Regions from separate parts of the Homo sapiens genome. Here region 2 is linked to region 1. Evidence: promoter capture Hi-C in 16 types of primary human blood cells and fetal thymus (Javierre and others, 2016). All regions are on one chromosome and are shown on one strand. Each heading gives the region's core, a stretch centred on a gene start or on the middle of the fragment in contact. The rest is flanking DNA. Distances are from core to core; before and after follow the strand shown.

Region 1 (3,009 bases), core at 237-2,736:
CTTTAAGGTGCTGGGAGCAAAGAGAGGGTGACTGAGGCAGACCCCAACCCCTGCTCTGCACCATCTGGGCCCTCGCCGTGTTTGAACCTGGCTGAATGAGTGGAGGGCGCTGTGTTCTCAATCAGCGCCTCCGAGGAGCCGTGGGGTTCCTTCGGCATTAGTTCACGGTTTTTGAGAGAGGCCTTAGTTACTGCAGTGAATTTCTTTCCTGTTGCAAAGACGCTTCCAGCCTCACTTTACTTTCTGTGGCCTGATGAGGACCATGGGTGATTTTGTGTACCCAAAGCGCTGGGGACTGCCCACCGTGTGGCCCAGTCACTGGGAAGGAGCCCCAGAGAGCCGGCTGTCTGACATGATGGCTCAGGGTGGTCATCCAGGTTGAAAACTGACCGTGTGATGTTTGATTTGGGCTTCATTTCGTGTGTAGGAGCACGGTTAGACTCACTGTTAAGGAAGCTGGATGCACTTCTCTAAAAGGCTGCACTTTCCGTGAGCACTTTTCGTGGTACAATCCACATGACCCACTTTCTCCCCTGGGGGACGTTGGTTCAGAGGTTGGTAGCACTTGGGGAGAGTATCTTAACACAGTTTCTTGACAGCAGCTCTGGAACTTAGTATTTCTGCCCCGAGTTTTGCCACACTGAGACTTTGAGTAGCTCCTGGTGGACTCAACCCTGTTCAACTCAGAGACGGGCCTCCTCTCACTGATGCAAAGCTTTAAGGCTTCTCTGACTGTTCTGAAACTCTTCGTATTCTTGTCAAGTCTAAAGAGACTGAAGAAAAGATTTAAATACTAATAAAAATCAGTAGATAATTTCTGTAGGTTCTGCTGGAGGAATACAAACTGTTTGGTGTTTTAAATTTAAGTGTAGAAATTGTAGAATGTGGAATTAGCACAGATCCTTCCTGGCTTTCTGTTTCACTTGATCATTTAGCCCAGACCACCCAGGATGTTTTCCAAAATGTTCCACAGGCGTGTCCCGCTGGATCCATTTGTCCTTGTCACTTGGAGAAAGGCCAGTCCCTGTGACGGGGCAGCCCTCTCTGTCCCTCGGTCAGCTCGTGTGAATCCTGGGACCTCTTCCGGTCGGCTCTGCCCGCTGTTCTGGGGTCGACTGCCACGACTTTTGATTCAAGAAGCTTCCTCCAGGCGGGAGCGGCTATTTTTCCTAAATGAGAATTGTTACATTGCAAATTGTTGAATAAAATATTTTGCGCTCCTTCAAGCACCTTCACCTGTGGTTCCCTTTGGTTTGCTGGAAGCGAGTGAGTGCAGGTGTCCGCAGGCCTCGGCGCTGTCCTGGACCGCACCCAGGTCCTCTCCGGGGACCTGCACCTGCCTCGCTGGGACCTGCCGGACTGCGGGGCTGCCGGGTTGGGAGGGGCGTGGGAGACCCGTCCGGGTCCGGTGCGGCGCAGTCCTCCGGCCGCCAGGGGCCGCTGTGGGCGGGGCCGGGGCGCGGGGCGGGGACCGGGCGCGGCCCCGCGGCGGCGGTTGCTGGGTCCCGGCCGGGCTGACTCCGCTTCTGGGCGGCCGGGCCTCCGCGAGTACCGGGTCGACTTCGGAGTCTGCGAGCCCAGCCAGGGGTGCCCGCTTCCCACCCCTCTCCCCGAGCGGCGTCCCCGTCGGGGTCGAACCTCCCCCGCGACAGGCGCCCAGCCGCCTGTTCCCCCAGGCCTTGCCTGCGGACCGCCCTGGGAACGGCGTCTGGGAGCCCCGAGGGGCTGGCGGGACTCGGGGCCCGGGCCATGCGGCAGCCGCCCCCGCCCCTCCGCGACCATCCCCGGCCCAAGCGGGAGCCGCAGCGGCGTTTCTGCTCCTCGCTGCGCCGGCGACCCCGGACCCGGCACCCGTGACCCCTCGCGCTGCCTGCGGCCTCGCGCCGAGGCCTGCCCCGGGAGAGACCGTCCATGCCGTCCAAGGCGGAGAATCTGCGGCCCTCCGAGCCGGCCCCGCAGCCGCCGGAAGGGAGGACGCTCCAAGGACAGCTTCCCGGCGCTCCGCCGGCCCAGCGCGCGGGGTCCCCACCCGATGCTCCGGGCTCCGAGAGCCCCGCGCTTGCCTGCAGCACTCCGGCCACGCCCAGCGGCGAGGACCCGCCAGCCCGAGCAGCACCCATCGCCCCGCGGCCCCCCGCCAGGCCTCGACTGGAGCGAGCCCTGTCCCTGGACGACAAGGGCTGGAGGAGGAGGCGTTTTCGAGGCAGCCAGGAGGACCTGGAAGCCCGGAATGGGACCAGTCCCTCCAGGGGCTCAGTGCAGAGCGAGGGCCCCGGGGCCCCCGCCCACAGCTGCTCCCCGCCCTGCCTGAGCACCTCCTTGCAGGAAATCCCCAAGTCCCGCGGGGTCCTGAGCAGTGAGAGAGGGAGCCCGTCCTCGGGGGGTAACCCTCTCTCTGGGGTGGCCAGCAGCTCCCCGAACCTCCCGCACAGAGACGCCGCCGTGGCGGGGAGCTCGCCCAGGCTGCCCAGCCTGCTGCCCCCGCGCCCACCGCCTGCCCTGAGCCTGGACATCGCCTCCGACTCCCTGAGGACAGCAAACAAGGTCGACTCGGATCTTGCAGACTACAAGCTCCGCGCGCAGCCGCTCCTGGTGCGGGCCCACAGCAGCCTGGGCCCCGGCCGGCCGCGGAGCCCCCTGGCCTGCGACGACTGTTCCCTTCGCTCGGCCAAATCCTCCTTCAGCCTCCTGGCGCCCATCCGCAGCAAGGACGTCCGCAGCAGGTAGGGAGGGCCTGGCGGGTGCAGCGCCCGCGCCGCCTTCGTTGTAGTGTTCAGGCTGCTGGAACCTCGTGAGACCGTTCCCATCAGCAGCGTTTAAGATGCCTAACCGGAAAGAACGAAGCGGGTCTCCCGCAGCCACCCCATCTCCCAGCCCCACCCCACAGCAGCGCCCTTCCCAGAACTTTTCCTGTGCGTTTCAGAACCATTCGTGGGCGTGACGTTGTGTTAAGGTAGACAGGATGGCATCCTGCATACAATTACGTATCTGGCGCTTTTTCTTGTTTAG
Region 2 (3,009 bases), core at 182-2,681, 310 kb before region 1:
CCCAGCTGCTCGGCTTCCTCCTTTTTGTATTTTTATTTTATTTTAGAGATGGGGTCTTGCTCCATCACCCAGGCTGGAGAGGAGTGGCACGATCACAGCTCACTGCAGCCTCAACCTCCTGGGCTCAAGCAATCCTCCTACCTCAGCTTCCTGAGTAGCTGGGACTACAGGAGCACGCCACCATGTCCAGCTAATTTTTAAACTTGCTTGTAGAGACGAAGTCTTGCTATGTCGCCCAGGCTGGTCTCAAACTCCTGGACTCAAGTGATCCTCCCGCCTCAGCCTCCTGAAGTGCTGGGATTACCGCGAGCAGCCACGGCTCCCTCCTGAAGGCTCCAGGCCTAAGTGTCCCGCTCCCTTGTTCTGTGGCTCAGCCCCTGGGCAACTCCTGCTTGCCATGGCTGTGGCTGGCACCTCCGTGGCCCCACTGCCCGGTCAGTCTTCGCAGGCCCAGCCCCCAGTAGCTGTGTGGTTTCTGCCTTCCTCCTGCACTCTGGTGGTCACAGGCCCTGCTGCGTGGGTACAGGGCAGGTGGCCAGGGCTGCAGCATAAGCTCTGTGAGTGCAGGCGGCCCTGGGCACTGGAGCCTTGTTGCATGGACGTGCTCCTTGCACCCTTGTTGATGAATGAGCGAAGGTGTGTGGGAGTGAATCCCAGAGGGTGCAGGCCACGGCACTGGGGGAGGACCCTCCCGGCTGCCTCCCAGTGGGCTTCAGGGGCTCAGATAGACCCTGCCGAGCACCTCTGTCCTCTGCTCCCGGACTGGGGCTGCAGAGAGCTCTCAAGGGGCCTTGGGAGGCACAAGCAGGCCAGGGTCCCAGGGAGGGGAGGCAGGAGGCAGCAGGGCCGGATGGTGGGCTGCAGAGGTGGAAGGAACAGGACAGTCTGTTCTGGGGGTGCTGGCTGTGGGGGACAGAGGCCAGGCCACAAAGCAGAATGGTGGGTGGGCCAGGAGGAGGTGGGAGCCTTTTTCAAAAGGCTTTCAGGGACTTTTTATATTTAATGATTGAAACAAAAGATATCCAAAACCGCAGTTCCTGAGAACCACTTGTTCTCGCCCTGGTTCCTCTCCTTGGGCTTGACCTTGGCCTCCTGCCGGGCCTGGCAGCGGACAGCAGTCTCCCTGCTTCCCAGGCTGGGCGAGGGAGAGCGTGGGTCCCCAGGAACGGGGGAGGTGGTGCGGCTGGCTTTAGGATGCCCATTCTGGAACCTTCTGGTGGAAGAAAGCAGGGGATCAGTATAGTATGGTTGATCCACACACTCCAGACCCTCTCCTGGCTGTGCAGCTGGTCTGATCTGGGCTCAGAGGCTGCCACTGCTCAGTGCTCCCCTGGGTAATTTTGCAGGAGGCCAGGAGGGTTCCTGGCAGTTAGTGCCACCCACACGGAGAAATTCAGAGCCATATAAACGGGTCTCCAGGGCCTGGAGGGACTGCACATCCTGGGCCTGCGGCGCAGTGTAGACCTGGGAGGATGGGCGGCCTGCTGCTGGCTGCTTTTCTGGCTTTGGTCTCGGTGCCCAGGGCCCAGGCCGTGTGGTTGGGAAGACTGGACCCTGAGCAGGTACAGTCCTCCTGGGGGTGGGGAGAGCTGGTCCTCGGGGGCCAGCCCCTCCTTTAAGGCCACACAGCTTCTGGGCCCCCCAGGGCTAGCCCAGACCAGCATGAGCAGTGGGGAATTAGTTGGGCCAGCCCTTGGGGAGTCCCACAGGCAGGAGCCTCAGGGCAGGAGGGGTGGATGCTGGAGGGTTGGAGGCTGGAGGGCTGGAGAATTGGAGGCTGGAGACTGGAGGTTGCAGGGCTGGAGGGTGTAGGGTTGGAGAACTGGAGGCTGGAGGGCTGGAGGCTGTAGGGCTGGAGAACTGGAGGCTGGAGGCTGCTGGGCTGGAGGCTGGAGGGCTGTAGAACTGGAGGCTGGAGGGCTGGAGGCTGGAGGGCTGCAGAACTGGAGGCTGGAGGGCTGGAGAGCTGGAGACTAGAGGCTGCAGGGCTGCAGGCTGGAGGTTGGAAGGCTGGAGGGCTGGAGCCTAGAGGCTGTAGGGCTGGAAGGCTGGAGGCTGGAGGGTTGGAGGTCTGGGGGGTTGGAAGCTGGAGGCTGGAGGGCTGGAGAACTGAAGGCTAGAGGCTGCAAGGCTGGAAGGTTGGAGGCTGGAGGGCGGGAGGGTTGGAGACTGGAGGCTGGAGGGCTGGATGGTTGGAGGGTGGAGGCTGGAGGCTGCAGGGCTGGAAGGCTGGAGGCTGGAGGGTTGGAGGCTGGAGGCTGGAGGGCTGGATGGTTGGAGGGTGGAGGCTGAGGCTGGAGGTTTGGAGGCTGGAGGCTGAGGCTGGAGGGTTGGAGGCTGGAGGCTGGAGGCTGGAGGGCTGGCGGCCCTAACGGGAGCCGCCTCAATGCAGCTTCTTGGGCCCTGGTACGTGCTTGCGGTGGCCTCCCGGGAAAAGGGCTTTGCCATGGAGAAGGACATGAAGAACGTCGTGGGGGTGGTGGTGACCCTCACTCCAGAAAACAACCTGCGGACGCTGTCCTCTCAGCACGGGTGAGTGGGCGGGTCCTGCCAGGCCTTCCCGCAGGCAGGACTGTGGCTCAGCCACATCATGTACTTTGCACATCTGCTCCCGGGCACCGCGGCCTGGGGGCTTCCCACGGCCCCTCTGCACCCCCGTCACTTTTCCCACTGGGCTCTGTGCAGAGCCACCAGCCCTCTGCCCAGCTACTCACATCTGTGTCCCTGGGGCCTCCAGGTGGCACTCCCACCTTCAATACCGCGGCGGGCACTGCTCTGACTATGCTCCTTCATGCATCCCTGTCCTGGGTCATCTGGGCTGCAGGCTGTGGTCAGAGCTGGGGAAGCCTGTCCTCTCAGCAGGCCTTTTTCGGGAATTCTGTTTAAAGGAGGATAATGCATTCGGACCTAAGAACCACTGGTTCTTTCATAACATAAATCCCCAAACAATATGGTCATGGACGCTGTTGGCCAGACTGGCCTTGTGGCCTCAGGCAGGCGCACCCGACC

What was found. The method cuts DNA at HindIII sites, captures the fragments that hold promoters and counts their contacts. A CHiCAGO score of 5 or more calls a contact.
Region 2: a contact is called between the fragment with the promoter of LCN6 here and the fragment with the promoter of INPP5E in region 1, in 7 of 17 cell types (monocytes, M1 macrophages, megakaryocytes and 4 more). The highest score is 7.8, in monocytes.

What each region holds. Positions count from the first base shown.
Region 1 is chr9:136,438,322-136,441,330 of GRCh38, reverse strand. INPP5E (inositol polyphosphate-5-phosphatase E) reads left to right here and starts at 1,486. Exons shown (of 10, transcript NM_019892.6): 1 at 1,486-2,723. The coding sequence starts at 1,912. SEC16A (SEC16 homolog A, endoplasmic reticulum export factor) reads left to right here. Exons shown (of 32, transcript NM_014866.2): 32 at 1-1,226. RefSeq lists silencers at 1,328-1,527, 1,578-1,757, 1,818-2,307 and enhancers at 1,380-2,013, 2,014-2,648, 2,598-2,707, 2,649-3,009. The HindIII fragment of the contact is 4,062 bases long and covers 1,143-3,009 here.
Region 2 is chr9:136,746,947-136,749,955 of GRCh38, reverse strand. LCN6 (lipocalin 6) reads left to right here and starts at 1,431. Exons shown (of 7, transcript NM_198946.3): 1 at 1,431-1,562; 2 at 2,393-2,532. The coding sequence starts at 1,473. It overlaps LOC100128593 (a long non-coding RNA gene), which reads right to left. Exons shown (of 3, transcript NR_033913.1): 2 at 1,384-2,878; 3 at 45-1,210. It overlaps MIR6722 (microRNA 6722), which reads left to right and starts at 2,986; the gene lies at 2,986-3,009. The HindIII fragment of the contact is 9,973 bases long and covers 1-3,009 here.